Linked DNA regions of Homo sapiens: all the other regions are linked to region 2. The links are contacts of gene promoters, found by promoter capture Hi-C in blood cells and fetal thymus (Javierre and others, 2016). All regions are on one chromosome and are shown on one strand. The core of a region is centred on a gene start or on the middle of the fragment in contact, and the rest is flanking DNA. Distances in the headings are between cores, read along the strand shown. Region 1 has its middle 44 kb from the start of CCDC26. Region 2 holds the start of LRATD2 (LRAT domain containing 2). Region 3 has its middle 10 kb from the start of CCDC26. Region 4 overlaps CYRIB (CYFIP related Rac1 interactor B). Region 5 overlaps ASAP1 (ArfGAP with SH3 domain, ankyrin repeat and PH domain 1).

Evidence for each region. Contacts are between HindIII fragments. The CHiCAGO score rates a contact against its expected background, and 5 or more counts as called.
Region 1: a contact is called between a fragment that was not itself captured here and the fragment with the promoter of LRATD2 in region 2, in 2 of 17 cell types (total CD4 T cells and fetal thymus). The highest score is 9.5, in total CD4 T cells.
Region 3: a contact is called between a fragment that was not itself captured here and the fragment with the promoter of LRATD2 in region 2, in 1 of 17 cell types (total CD4 T cells). The highest score is 7.6, in total CD4 T cells.
Region 4: a fragment that was not itself captured here is called in contact with the fragment with the promoter of LRATD2 in region 2 in 1 of 17 cell types (fetal thymus); the score reaches 6.3 in fetal thymus.
Region 5: a contact is called between a fragment that was not itself captured here and the fragment with the promoter of LRATD2 in region 2, in 1 of 17 cell types (fetal thymus). The highest score is 6.5, in fetal thymus.

Annotation. Positions count from the first base shown.
Region 1 is chr8:129,722,852-129,725,564 of GRCh38, forward strand. It overlaps a transcript of GSDMC not described here. Among named protein-coding and RNA genes, the nearest start is that of CCDC26, 44 kb to the left of the region's middle. The HindIII fragment of the contact is 213 bases long and covers 1,146-1,358 here.
Region 2 is chr8:126,557,163-126,559,862 of GRCh38, forward strand. LRATD2 (LRAT domain containing 2) reads right to left here and starts at 1,316. Exons shown (of 2, transcript NM_174911.5): 1 at 872-1,316; 2 at 1-323. The coding sequence starts at 227. LOC105375751 (a long non-coding RNA gene) reads left to right here and starts at 714. Exons shown (of 6, transcript NR_188069.1): 1 at 714-769. RefSeq lists an enhancer at 718-1,554 and a silencer at 1,269-1,448. The HindIII fragment of the contact is 2,746 bases long and covers 599-2,700 here.
Region 3 is chr8:129,689,329-129,692,072 of GRCh38, forward strand. No RefSeq gene overlaps it. Among named protein-coding and RNA genes, the nearest start is that of CCDC26, 10 kb to the left of the region's middle. RefSeq lists enhancers at 1-1,244, 2,097-2,744 and a cis regulatory region at 32-366. The HindIII fragment of the contact is 2,095 bases long and covers 397-2,491 here.
Region 4 is chr8:129,944,053-129,946,567 of GRCh38, forward strand. All of the region lies in intron 2 of CYRIB (CYFIP related Rac1 interactor B), which reads right to left. Among named protein-coding and RNA genes, the nearest start is that of MIR5194, 63 kb to the right of the region's middle. RefSeq lists an enhancer at 1,296-1,796. The HindIII fragment of the contact is 5,391 bases long and covers 1-2,515 here.
Region 5 is chr8:130,364,134-130,366,833 of GRCh38, forward strand. The region is part of intron 2 of ASAP1 (ArfGAP with SH3 domain, ankyrin repeat and PH domain 1); the gene reads right to left. Among named protein-coding and RNA genes, the nearest start is that of ASAP1-IT1, 69 kb to the left of the region's middle. The HindIII fragment of the contact is 1,736 bases long and covers 513-2,248 here.

The DNA.
Region 1 (2,713 bases), core at 2-2,501, 3.2 Mb after region 2:
GTTTGGGGCCAGCGAAAATTTTGAGAATTAAGCTGATTTGAATTATCTACGCACCAGAGTTCTAAAATTGATAGATTCTAATCATAAAACTGTAGAATGTTCACAAACAAGAGGGAGGTACTCACCACATTCTATTTTTCTGTGCCATTCCCATTTCAGTGTAAGCACCACTGAAAGCAAACACCAAAAACATTTTCAAACAAATGTTATCTATTCTTAGATGTGAATCATGCCACTGTTAGCCAACCATGAGTAAAACTACCATCGTGCATGCACATCCTTCCTCCCAACCTAGAAAAATTCTACCCGTCCCAGGGTCTTCTGACCTTGACACTCACCCTCTGCACTGCTAGGTGGCCATCCGGGCTCAGCATCTAGCAGTTTTTTTGTTTCTGTTTTTGTTTTTTGAGATGGAGTCTCTCTCTGTCGCCCAAGCTGGAGTGCAGTGGCATGATCTCGGCTCACTGCAACCTCTGCCTCCCGGGTTCAAGCTATTCTCATGCCTCAGCCTCCTGAGTAGCTGGGATTACAGGCATGTGCCACCACGCCTGGCTATTTTTTCTTCTCCTTTTTTTTTTTTTTTTTTTTGTATTTTTAGTAGAGACAGGGTTTCAACATCCTGGTCAGATTGGTCTCGAACTCCTGACCTCATGATCCACCCGCCTCGGCCTCCAAAAGTGCTGGGATTACAGGCATGAGCCACCGCGCCTGGCCGCATCTAGCAGTTTTTTACTGCTTGGGAAACCTAGTGAATTTTAATGCCATTGATCAACTCTGCTCAAACACTCCTGGCATGAACTGAGCAAAGCCCTGGTTCCTAGGCAGCCATTACAAAAGCACAAGGATTTCCAAAATAAAAAGAGACCCAGAGCACACTTGAATCAAGGGCAGTTGCACTGTTTATTTGCAAGTGATTGGATTGCACCCCTACCTTGGTTAAATGGTTTATTTCTCTATGAATTACTCTAGAAAATACTACTACTCTAGCCCTTCCAATTTTTAACTAAGCTGAAAGTATTTTTACTTTTTCCAGACTCTCAGTGAGGAAAGAATGAGGTATGTTTTAATGCTGGAACTTCTAGCAAATAGTAAGTGTTCAATAAATACTTGTTGAATTAACTAATTAATTAATATGTGGGCACAAAAGCTTGCTTTTGCATCCTAAAGCAATCATGGCCTCTGGGGAAAGCCAGGCTTGCTGTATCCTGAGGCAATCACTCACTCTGGAGAAATCCAGCCTCCATGTTGAGAGGGCACTCAAGCCATCTATGGAGAGACCACATGGTTAGGAACTAAGGCCTCCTGCCTACAGCCATGCAAGACAGCCATCTTCAAAACAGATCCTCCAGCCTCAATTAAGCTTTCAGGTGACTATAGCCCTTGCCAACATCCAACTGCAGTCACATGTAAGACCCTAAGCCAGAACCAGCCAGGTAGGCCATTCCCAAATTCTTAACCAGCAGAAAGAGGAAAATATAAGTTAAATGTTTATTATTTTAAGCCATTACGTTTTGGGGGTGATTTGTTATGCAATAGATAATACAATCTATTTGTTTATCAATAGATTATATTGATAACACAATAGATAATACAATAACAATTTGTTTGCAATAGATAATACAATCTTCTTTCACCTTGTCTGAGATGACAGCTTATTAAAATACAAACTCCTGGAAGGCAGGTTTTCTGTCTTATTCCCTCCTGTATTCCTGGTATCTTGTATGCATCCAATAAACAATGAGTAACAACTCACTTAATGACAAGCTGGTTCCTAATTTTGTATAGAAAACTATATATGTTCACACACAGAAACAGAAGTAGAATTCTTCAAAAAAATGATACTTTTTAGCGAAAAAGCGTTAGATAGCATAATTATCCAAAAAGGAACTATTGGAAATTATGGAAAAAAATGTTATTAGAATTCACATAATCCTCCTCCCTTACTGGGGTGGGAGGGAGCTACCTATAGAAGGAATACAGGGCCTTGAAGTATTCAAAGAAATAACAATTAACAAAGGGCATAGTTTGAGGAGCCCAGCTTCTCATGAGAAGAAAAAGGCATTGCAAGGTGGCACAGAGGGACTAAGATCTCAAGCTCTACTTGGAGGTTTTCTTGAAGTGCTCCTGAAGCAATATCATAAAAGGAATTTGAGAATACAAGGCCAGTTGAACAAGTTAACCCTTCAGCCCCTTTCTAACTTGAGCTGTTGTGATTGCTCCTGTCCTCTGCTAGCCTGAGAAAGCTCAAGAGGAAGACCATGGGGCCACCATTTTCCACATTCACATTCACACATGCCCTCTCTCCATCAAGTATCTTATTAGACTATCTGTTGGAGTACAGGCTAAATAAGTGTCCTCAAATAAGTGATGGTGAATAATGGCAGCACGTCCCTGTCCTGTTCCCTGACAATAAAGCTGGTATAGATTAAAGGCAAGATTTATCCTCCCTGGAACCTCAGGTAATGAACTGACTACCTGTATTCAAATCAAAGACACACTCATGCGTTCTTTTCTTTCTAACAGCTCAATTTCCAGAGTTGATATTGTGTACTCTGCCACATGCTGTGAGGTATGTAAGAAAAGTGGCATGTGGCCTGGCATCTCAGTTACTTATCACCCCCCTCCAGAGCCAGGGAGCAGTTTCAAATGTGTTCGATTGCCCAAGATCTAAAAATTAAAAATAGTAATTTAAATGTCCCAGATCAGAAAATCA
Region 2 (2,700 bases), core at 66-2,565:
GGATCGTAGGGCTGCGGCTGGGGCGGCGGCGGCCCGTCCCCACCGTCGGGCAAGCCGCCGCCATCTGGCCCCTGAGGCGGCGGCTGCGGCTCCACGTCCTCATCGTCATTGGAGAAAATGTAGGAGACCCCAATGCGGGGCCCGTCGTCCCGGTCCACGCCAGTCGGGTCGGCCGTGGGAACTTCCTTGTAACTTAGGTGGGTCAATTTCTCCACCTGGTTGCCCATCACGCTGCGGACACACGTTCACACCGCCGCAAGGGGAGAAAGCGAAACCAACTCCAGGGTCATTTGCACAGGTCCCCGGACAGGGGCTGAGGCTACCTGTTGGGAGAGGAAGGCAAGAAAGCCATGCAGGAGCCCCTCCGTGAAAAGGGCGTTTTGTTCCGAAAAAGAATCGGTGGGGGCTCAGCACCTGGAGCCATTTTAGGGGGAAGTCTCGGGTGTAGCGAGCTTTCCCTCGTTTCTCCACCTGTAAGGTCACGGTCACAGGAGACTGGGCAACTCCTGTTCTCCCTGTCCCCAGCCCTTCGCCTGGCCCTGGCAAAAGCCCATTGCATCAGCAGCTTCTACTGCTTCCGCCTGCGCCCTACCTGCCAAGCTTGGGCAGGAAGAGGGAAGGAAAGAGAAACTTTACGCCAATCCCCCCCCTCCTCTGCTAACTTCCCCTCCCACCCTCGGGCCCTAACTAGCCCCGGGGACGCCTCCTCCCCACCAACGCATCCATCCCCAGAGGAACAAGCGAGGATCTCAGAGCGCGACCTGGACAGGTGAGTCACCCTACCTGGCTCACCTGCAGCGCTACCTCCTCCCGGCTCGCCCGCCCTTCCCCCGCGCCCGCCCTCAGGCTCGGGTTACCTGCACAAACTCACCCGCGGAGAGGTGAAGGCCGTGGGGCCTGGGGAAGGGCTCCCTGCCGCGCCCCGAGACTTCTAGGGCGAGTTTGAAGGTGTAGGCTCGGCAGTCCCTCCTCTCCCGGCGCGGGCGGCAGCGAGGCTGGGCAGAGGGCAGCGCAGCGGGCAGACTAGGGGCATGTCTTTCCCCCGCGGCTGCGTAGCGCCCCGATACTTGAAGGCGGGGGGCAATCCCTGTTCACACCGCGCTTCCTCCCGCCAGCTGGGGCTGCTGCCCCTCCTCAGCCAGCTCTCGGGGGAGGTGGGGCGCGAGGAGGAGAGGACGGCAGCCTCGCAGCCTGGCGGCAACAGCTCCCGCTTGGGCCGGGCGAGCAACAAGCACCGGAGCTGGAGGGACGGGATTGTAGATCCGGCTCCGGGCTCCCGGGCGGGAGCGCAGCCCGTGGCATTTAAAGAGACAGGCGCTCACTCCCCGAGCTCGGGTCTTTTTCACATTGCGCCGAGCGGCCGGGAGCCCCGCCCCCGCCCCGCCCACTCGGGCCTCGGGACTCCGCCCGGCCACGCCCCCGCGCCGGAGCGGGTTTAAATCCCCCTGTAAATAATCCACCCGCCGCCTGGGGCTGGTGCTGTGAGCTCTGCTTGCCTTCCGAGACAAGTTAGAAGGCAAACACAACTTGCCAGTGTGGAAATGAGAAAGGGAAGGAGAGTTTGGTGTTTGCGCCTTTTCCCTTTGACCTGTTTTTTCCCAGAGTACCTGGAGAAGGAGGAACAGTCGTTTCTTTTCTTTCCTGGAACATATTTCTTGCCCTAAAGGTCACAAGAAAGGATTCTTCACCAGGACAGCTCGAAGAGTGCGTCATCCTAGAGGTGTTTTCAGAGTTAGTAGTGGGAAACTTTGGGGTAGAAAAGAAAATCGCAGAAAAGAAACAGTATAAAACAGAACGAAGACTTATTCACTGACTGGGTCCCAAGACCACCGCTCTGTTTATTAGATACCCCTGGAAGTTAGTACAAAGTTCATAACCTCCGTTATTTCCAGAGAGGTACCAGTTCGTTGGATAGTGAGAGAAGCGTGCAGCTCTGACTGCTTTTTTTTGGGGGGGTGGGGGGTTAGGGGATGTAGGAATTGCCTAATTCCTACATCCTAATTCTAATTGTCCTTAAATTAGAAACAAATTAGCAGAGGCCCTAGTGGATATATTTCCTTCCTGTTGACTTAGGGAAGTGACAGGAGACCAGTAATGCCTACTAACCTCCACCACAAAAGGACACTTCCACCTCTCCACTGGTTTCGTTTCTTTTACCTAAATGTAGGCTACCAAAGTGTTTTTTTTGTTGTTGTTGTTGTTTATTTTTTTAAAATAATGGGTCCGGTGAGGGTGGAGGATTAACAGCTCTGTTTACAATAAACAAGTTTAGGCACTACTGCAAGCACCCAGACTTATTCGTAGGGGACTTAAGAATGCGATTCAAGACCTATATTCTGTCTTCAGTTGCTTTCTTTTGACTAATTTTTTCCAGCATGTATAACCAGCCAGTGGAAACAGGAATATACTAGCACTACTGTGATCCTTTCTAGTTTAGGAGAAAAAAATAAAAATCATTCTACTTATGTAATTTTGAGTCCAAACAATCAATATTGGCAGGGCTGTGATAGAAATTAGTCCTTCAGCAAGTCTGAAGTATAAGTTAGATCAACATGAGACTACTGTGTGCTGTGCGATTCTGTTTCAATAATTTCAGACTGGCTGGCCTCAGGCGCATGTGACTGAATGAATCCAACACACCCCAGTCCTTTTGATAGCAAATGGTGTGGGGGGCTGCTGTTACCTGAGTGATATTTGTTG
Region 3 (2,744 bases), core at 194-2,693, 3.1 Mb after region 2:
AATGCTGTCAGCCTCTCCTTTGGGAATGGCCTTGGTCTCGGTCTGCACCAAGGCAGCCCAGTTTCTAGGCCATTGCTGCCAGAGGCGGTGTCGTTGCTTGGGAAATCTTCCTGCTGATCAGAACTTCCTCTCCACTGTACCTTTTTCCCTCCTTAGAGCCAACATCCAGGCCTTATCTCAGATGAGGAAATGTTTAGGGCACAGGACCGTTGAGATATTTCTCAGAACACAAATTACGAGGCACATGTTTTCACAGAGAAGAAAATAAGGAGAAGACACACAGTGATCACCATGCTGGTTCTGAGAACAAGCCCTTATCTGCTCTGACCCAGCTCTGGACTCACAGGCTGGTGTCAGCCTCACAACTGGTCAATGAGGCAGCCAGGAAAAGTCCAAAGCTTTAGGTGGGGGAGTCCATCGCCCAAAGGCAAAGGTGCAAAAAATAAACACTTAAGAGAGAGCTGCAGCCTCAAAGCCCTGGGCTGTACCAGGCCGACATACCACAGCAAAAAGCCTATGAAGTCCTACAAAATGTAAGCACCTCACCAAGCTGCTAGCATGGAGGGATTGCACATTAAAACTCTGGTCACGTTACAAATGTCTGTGCAGGGTCTTCCCGCCAGGAAACCCCAATGCAGTGAGGAGGATACTATGCATGTTTAAAAAACTAAGCAGTCATAAGATTACAGTAATCATTCCAAGCAGGACAAAAAGAAAGAAAAGATGAGGTGATACAAAGTACTACATGGTCAATGAATGACCAGATAAATGATGGAATCAATAATTACTAGAAGAGTTCAGAGGGAAAAGTTCAGGTAGGAAGGACTAGCTTGGCTTAATAATATCTATCATTCATTAAATACCTACTATCTGCCAGAATTTGAGAATTTTTCTTTCAATGACTTCACAAGGTCTGTGTTAAGTATCTGCACTTCACCAAGGGGAAGGCTGAAATGTGGAGAAGCCAGGTGACCTCCCACAGTAACTCAGCTGTAGGAACCAGGGTGAGTTCTGTCTCGTTCTCCTGAACAATTACCTGAGTTTCCTTAGCCATAGAGGTCCTGAGAAATTGCTTGAGTTTCCTTAGCAATAGAGGACAAGGAGAGCTTGGATAAAGCCAAAAGGAAAGAGAGGGATCATTGCAGGCAGGTGAAAGGAGCAGCTGAAATCACAGAGGCAGGAAAGTCAAAAGCACATGTGCGGCTGTTAACAGAGATGAATTTAGCTAGGGTGGAGGTTTCTGGAATGGATAGAACTTATTGAGTACTTACTGTGCTAAGCAAAGTTCTAAGAACTTTATATAGATAATCTCATTTAACCCTCACAATAACCCTGTGAGGTATGGAGTATTATTATTCCCAAAGTATGGATAAGGAAGTCAAAGCATAGAGAGGTTAAGTAACTTGCCCAAGATCACATAGCTGATAGGCAGCAGAGGTAAGACTTGAACATAGTCAGGATTGAAAGTCCATGCCCTTAATCACTACAATGTACTTGAAGGAGTTTGTCATAGAAAGCTGGAAAAGCTGGATTCCCTGAGGGGTTGCCTTGAATGCCAAGTGTTTGCACTTAATCTTTCTGCAGAAAAAAAAAGGAATTATAACGAAATACCTGTTTCTATATAAACAAAGCAAAGCAAGGGCAGAGAAGCTCTCAAGACAAAGTCCAGCCAAATAAAGGGCTGCAGCCTCCTCACCCCTTGGGGTTCTCTGCATGTTTCACTTCCACGGCAATCATGTGATCAAAGCAGAAACGTTCTTTTAGTTGTGGTGAGAAAGGTGGACTGGAAGAAGGGAAGAACAGTCGGACGCTAGCGCCAGAGGCAAAGCAGGAAGTGACGAAGGCATGCAGTACGTGGGAGCTGCAGGAAGGCTGGAACAGTGGAGGTGGATGGTAGAGCAATGGAGAAGGAAGGGTCAAAAGGCTTTGATGAACCATTAGAGAAAAGTAGTCGTTACTGGTTGTGGCTTAGGTTAACCTACCATGAACCCATTTTCTGACCCAAGAACTGGGCTGACAGGTCCCCATAAGAGTGAGGCAGAATGTCTGAAGCTATCTCTGCTCCAGAAAGCCAAGGACAGTCTGTCTTTGTGTTTGTGCCTGTCACCTTCTGCATGCTTCTGGGAAAGGAGTTCCTTTGACCAAGGAGCCCTCCTGGGGAAGGCCTGTCCAGAGACTTAGAACCAGAAGAAAGACAGGACACTAGGAGAGGCACAGATCCTCCCAGAGATCAGCCTTAAGAGCCCCCCCAGACTCTCCTATGTAGAAATCTACATGGGATTCCCCTGGCATTTATGGAGGGCACTTCCTATTTTAACGAGATTTCATATGTATTACCATCCTTGATTCCATTCACCCCTTCCAAGAAAAAACAGAGCCATGGGAGTGTGGGACAAAGAATGAGCATTTGTTAGAGGCTGACTCTCTTCCAGGTAGCATGCTCTGTACTCTCCTGCAGCTGTTTTAGATCATCCTCACACTCCGTGGGACAAGCTTTTACTCCCCCCACATTAAAAATGAGGACTTGAGCTCCAGTGTGATGAAATGACTTCTCATGATCATACAACCAAGAAGGAATAGGCTAGAGATGGACACTGCCTTTGCCTTTTCCCTGGGACAGGAAGGCAGACCTAACCTCACCATCTCACAGGTAAGGAAATATTCAAGGCCCCAAAACACCATGGAGATCAATACCAGAGCGAGACTAAAATCCAGAGCTCACAGTTTCTAGTCCTGTGTTCATT
Region 4 (2,515 bases), core at 1-2,500, 3.4 Mb after region 2:
TCATACACCATACTAAGAAATTTGAACTTGCCTTCTGAAGGCAACAACAAGTAAAGAGACGCTTCTAACCAAGGGAGACACATAATCAGGTATGTTTTATATCAGGATCACTCTGACCACAGGGTCCAATATGGACTACAGTGGTAGGGAGAACAGAGGGCCAGCAAAGCAGTTAAGAGGCTGCTGTGGGGTCCAGGAGAGGGATAAGGAGAGCCTGCTCAAGGAAACTGGCAGCGAGGATGAAGAACAGGCACCGGAATTAAGATGCTACCTGATGCAGAATCTGCAAGTTCAATCTGGGGGAAGAGGAGACTGGGGTTGTCGGGATGACCCAGAGGCTCCTGGCTTAGCAGACAAACTGGATGGTGACACCACGTGATATCAATACTTTTACACAGTTTTCATTCCTCTTATCTTCCAATCTTTATCCATGTAAATGCACTTGCTTTGCCGGGCGCGGTGGCTCACGTCTGTAATCCCAGCAGTGTGAGAGGCCGATGCAGGTGGATCACTTGAGTCCAGGAGTTCGAGACCAGCCTGGCCAACATGGTGAAACCCCGTCTCTACTAAAAATACAAAAATTAGCCAGACATGGTGGCACACGCTTGTATTCCCAGCTATTCTGAAGGCTAAGGCAGGAGAATCACTTGAGCCCAGGAGGCAGAGGTCGCAGTGAGCCAATATCCCACCATTGCACTCCAGCCTGGGCAACGCAGTAAGACTCTGTCTCAAAAAAAAAAACAAAAACAAAAATAAATAAATAAATGCACATTGCTTTCATTGGTTTCTTCAGATATGTGCAACTCTTTCCCAATACTTTTTCATATTTCTACACACTCACATCTATCATTTTAATGACTACAGAGTATTTCATCATACTGAAATACCTCAGTTTCCTTCAGTTGCTAAAGGTCCACATCCTACATGGCTGGTTTACCCTCTAGACTCATTTGGCTTTGGGTATTTTGCAAGGGATGAGTTGAGCCTTTAGGGAAAAAGAGCCTTTAGGCAAAAGGTGTTGGAGAAGTGTGGCCTCCGGGGAAGCTGCAACTCTCCTGGGAGGGGCCTGGGCAACCGCATTGCTGTATTGCAGGTAAAAAATGCGGAACTATGGAAAAGAACCTGTCATCCATGGGGAGCCTGAGGTCCAAGTTTCCACAGAAGCTGGTTTTCATGTCCTAACTCCCTAATCCATTTGTTCATTCATGTGTTCATGTATTCACTCCTTCTACAAAGCATTCCTGTGAATGCAGAGGGCAACACAGCAGAGCTGAAACCATGTCTATGCTCTGGATGTAACTTAGGCTCTGAAACCTGCTCTACAACTTACACAAGTTATTCAACATCTGAAAGCCTCAGTTTCCCCCACAAGTTTGTTAACTCAGAGAAAACTTGTAAAATGCTAGGGACTGAACTAGGCACAGACTAAGCTCAATAACAGTTTTCAGTCTTGGTTTTCTCCTTATGCTTTTTTGACTCCCACCACTGTACCTTGAGTTTCTTTTTTTTGTATTTTTATTTATTTATCTATTTGAGACAGAGTCTTGCTCTGTCGCCCCAGGCTGGAGGGCTGTGACACAATCTCCACTCACTGCAGCCTCCGCCTCCCGAGTTCAAGCGACTTTCCTGCCTCAGCCTCCTGAGTGAGTAGCTGAGATTACAGGCATGAGCCACCACACCTGGCTAATTTTTGCATTTTTAATAGAGACAGGGTTTCACCATGTTGGCCAGACTGGTGTTAAACTCCTGACCTCAGGTGGATCTGCCCACCTTGGCCTCCCAAGGTGCTGGGAGCCACTGCACCCAGCTGTACCTTGAGTTTCTGACCAAACCCACTGGGTAGCCATCCATGAGCTGCAGCTCAGGTCCTAAATCTGCCAGAGTGAACTAGACCCACTCACTTGATCTTTGCTTCCTATCTGTGAAATGGAGATAAGACAATCTACTTCTCGGAAATGTTGGGAAGCTCTCATGAAGACTGTATAAGAAAATACTTTCAAAGCTCCAAAGCACTATGTCATTATTGACTGTTAACTTTTGTTAGAGACATTTTGTTTTCTTTGTTTTTCCCTTTAAAAAAACTCTGACCTCAGCGTAAGCTCCCTGGATTGTAATTACTGGGTCAAAGGATCTGAAAATTTTTTAGATCCTGATTTGTTATTGCCCAATTGTCCTTAGAGAAGACTCTATATTTTGCTGCCAGCCTTCACTCAAAGACATCTTTCAATATGCTTCAGCACCTAGAGTATAGTTTTTGCTGCCTCTGTATCCAGTCTCGCTCCTCAATTGAACATTCAGGGAGTTCTATCAACTGTTTCTCTCTTCCTTTTCACAGGATGAATGAACACTGAATCCTTTAGAAAACAGCTCCAAACATTTCCACCATAGTCAGGGACTCCAGTGTTGCCTTAGGGATGAGGACTCCATGGATATTTAACGAAGAAAGGGGAAGAGGACAGGGGACAGAGGCCTGAGAATCCCCTGGGAAGGGCTAGAAGCTCATCCAGCATTGAAA
Region 5 (2,700 bases), core at 131-2,630, 3.8 Mb after region 2:
GTTTTCTCAGTAAAGAGAAGAACATGGTTTGTTTGGAGACAAAAAACTACTCTGGTTCTACCTCCCTGTTCCTCTGATGGAAGTAGGAAGAAAAGAGGCAGAATGGTGGGAACCTAGAAGAAATGTAGCATAAATATCAACTGAATGAACTCAGGGATGTATTTCTGTTTAGTCCTATGAAAGAATAATTGTGCTTAGTATTATGCGCCCTGTATTATCCTGAGTCATTGCAGGCGCAACCTCACTTAATACTTGCAGCAACAATATAAAGCAGGTACTGTATTATTCCCCATGTTATATGCATGGGAAACCTGAAGCTTAGAGGTTACCTGTCAAGTAGTGGAGCAGGACTCAAGCAATCTGATTTCATAGCCCATGTGATCAGCCACCATGCTCTGTTGGCTTATCAAAGACAATGGATGAGTCCACAGCCCCAGGATGCTTTTTCTGTTGGGGTATATGTGCGTGTGTTTTCCTTCTGGGGAACTCATTACAAGCCCAATTCAAATGCAAGCTTGACTGGTCTAGAGAGCAGCTCCTTGCCCCATTCCTCCAGGTGGGATTAATCTTCATGTGGGTATCCACAGTCAGCTTCTCTCACTCTGCCTTAAGCAACTGGAGGATATTGGCACCATTCAGAGGAGAAACTGAGAACTTCCTCAGCAACAAATAGCTCTGTTAGCAGAAGGGCTTGGCTCTGACTCATCTCTCACTTGGGCTCAGGAGTTTGAGGCTGCCGTGAGCTATGATTGCACCACTGCACCTCAGCACTCCAGCCTGGACAACAGAGCAATCCAGTCTCAAAAAATAAATAAATAAAATAAAACACAAAAAACAAATGCCAAACAAACAAACACCTTGTATCTTCCAAGTGAGTATCCTATACCGCAAAGTCCCAGACTATCAATCCCTGACAGCATTCAGGGACTAAATCCTACCCATGTCTGTATCACCTACATCCCCCAGCAACTAAAGCAAGGACAGAAGATTCCTGGAGCCCCAGGCTTGGCCTTTTACAAGCACCATCTCCTGAAATCTTCCTAGTAACCTAGTGAGGTAGTGTGTTTTCTGCAAGAGAACTCAGAGATAAGCACAATTTGCTCAAGGTTAACAGTTAATAAGTGGAAAAATGCTATTCAGTCAGTCTGAATCCAAACCCTGTAGGCTTTTTCTTCTCTAGGAAAGCACTGCCTAGTTGGGGTCCCTTGTGGGCCCCCATAAATGTGTTTTGAATTGAACTGGCTCCCTTTTATGAGCTACATCATTTCTAATACAAGTAAAACAACCTCCAATGAAGAAAAAAATCATGGTGTTTTATGGGAGTCCTAAAAACTTGCGATCTATAGGAACGAGGGATTTAAAATCTTGCTTATTTCTGATAAAGTCACATTAACCTGAAAAATGAGAAAAACTTACAATACACCCAGGTTTCTTTGATGAATTTAAGTTGAGTTCATCACCTTTAATGATGCCCAACTTCTGTGCTATATCAAGAATGAGAACGTTCCTCTTTTATGGCCCTTTTCAATGGTATCATTTTCCAGGGTACCATTTTCCAAATATTTATATTTATCCAACTAGACTGTGACCTACCTAAGACCAGGGAGGGTTTCTATTTGCTATTATGGCCCCAAAGTGCCAAGTGTTTAAGAGATACTTACTGAATAGAAGGAAGACTGAATGAATGAATGAACAAACATTTATAGGGGGAAGGGTATGAGAGGAATTGAGAGAGGAGAAATGGAGAGATCCAGAAGAGAGTAAGATCCACAGAAGTGATCCCGGTTTTTAGAGTCGCTGTCATTATTTTACATCACTATAAGCCATAAGAGCCAGCGAGAATTTTAAGGATAACATGCTTTCCAAACTTTTCATTTTTTGGATAAGGAAACTGATTCCCAAGCAGTTAGGTGACTTGCCCAGTGTTCCCTGACAGATTTGTGGGAACTGAGCCAAATGCCAAGTATCCTGGTTCCCAAGGGTTTCCCACTCCACCTTTCCCAGTTATATTTCAAGGATAGGATTAAAGACCTTCAGAAACTCCCGTCTACAACAGATTATGTTGTCTTTGCATCACAGAATCAAGGAATGCCTATGCACAATTGCCTACTATTTAAAAATTGTAACAGTATAAAGTTTGGCACACCATCACTTAACTGACACTCCTAATTTGGGGCAAGAGGACTGTGCCCCACAGTACTCACCTAGTTGTACTGTTTTTCTAAGCCACCCACCCTTTACCCAGAGAAGCTTCCCAGCACATGCAGAGTGTAGGTCAAATTTCTCCTTTTCTCAAGTCCAGTTGCCTATTGTGATTGACACAGTTCCTCCTCCCTTGGTCATTTTCAGAGATGAGATCATTGCCTCCTGAGTCTCTGACAACATTTTCCCCTGGGTACAGAGGTATTAGGAGGGAACCAGTCAGTTCAGTTCTAATCCACAAACAGTTATTAAGCAGCTTTATAACCTTTCTAGGGGCTAAGAGTGTGCGATCTGGATTCAGATTACCTGGGGTTCAATCTCAGTGCTGCCATTTAACAGGATTTGTTACCTTAGGCAAGTTATTTAATTTAAATTACTTTATTGTTAAAAGGAAGATGATGATAAGCCCTCTCTCTCAAGGTTGTGGTAAGATTGAAATGAGATAATCTGTGCAAATGCTTAGCACAGTGCCTGGTATATAGTAAGTGATCAATAAAC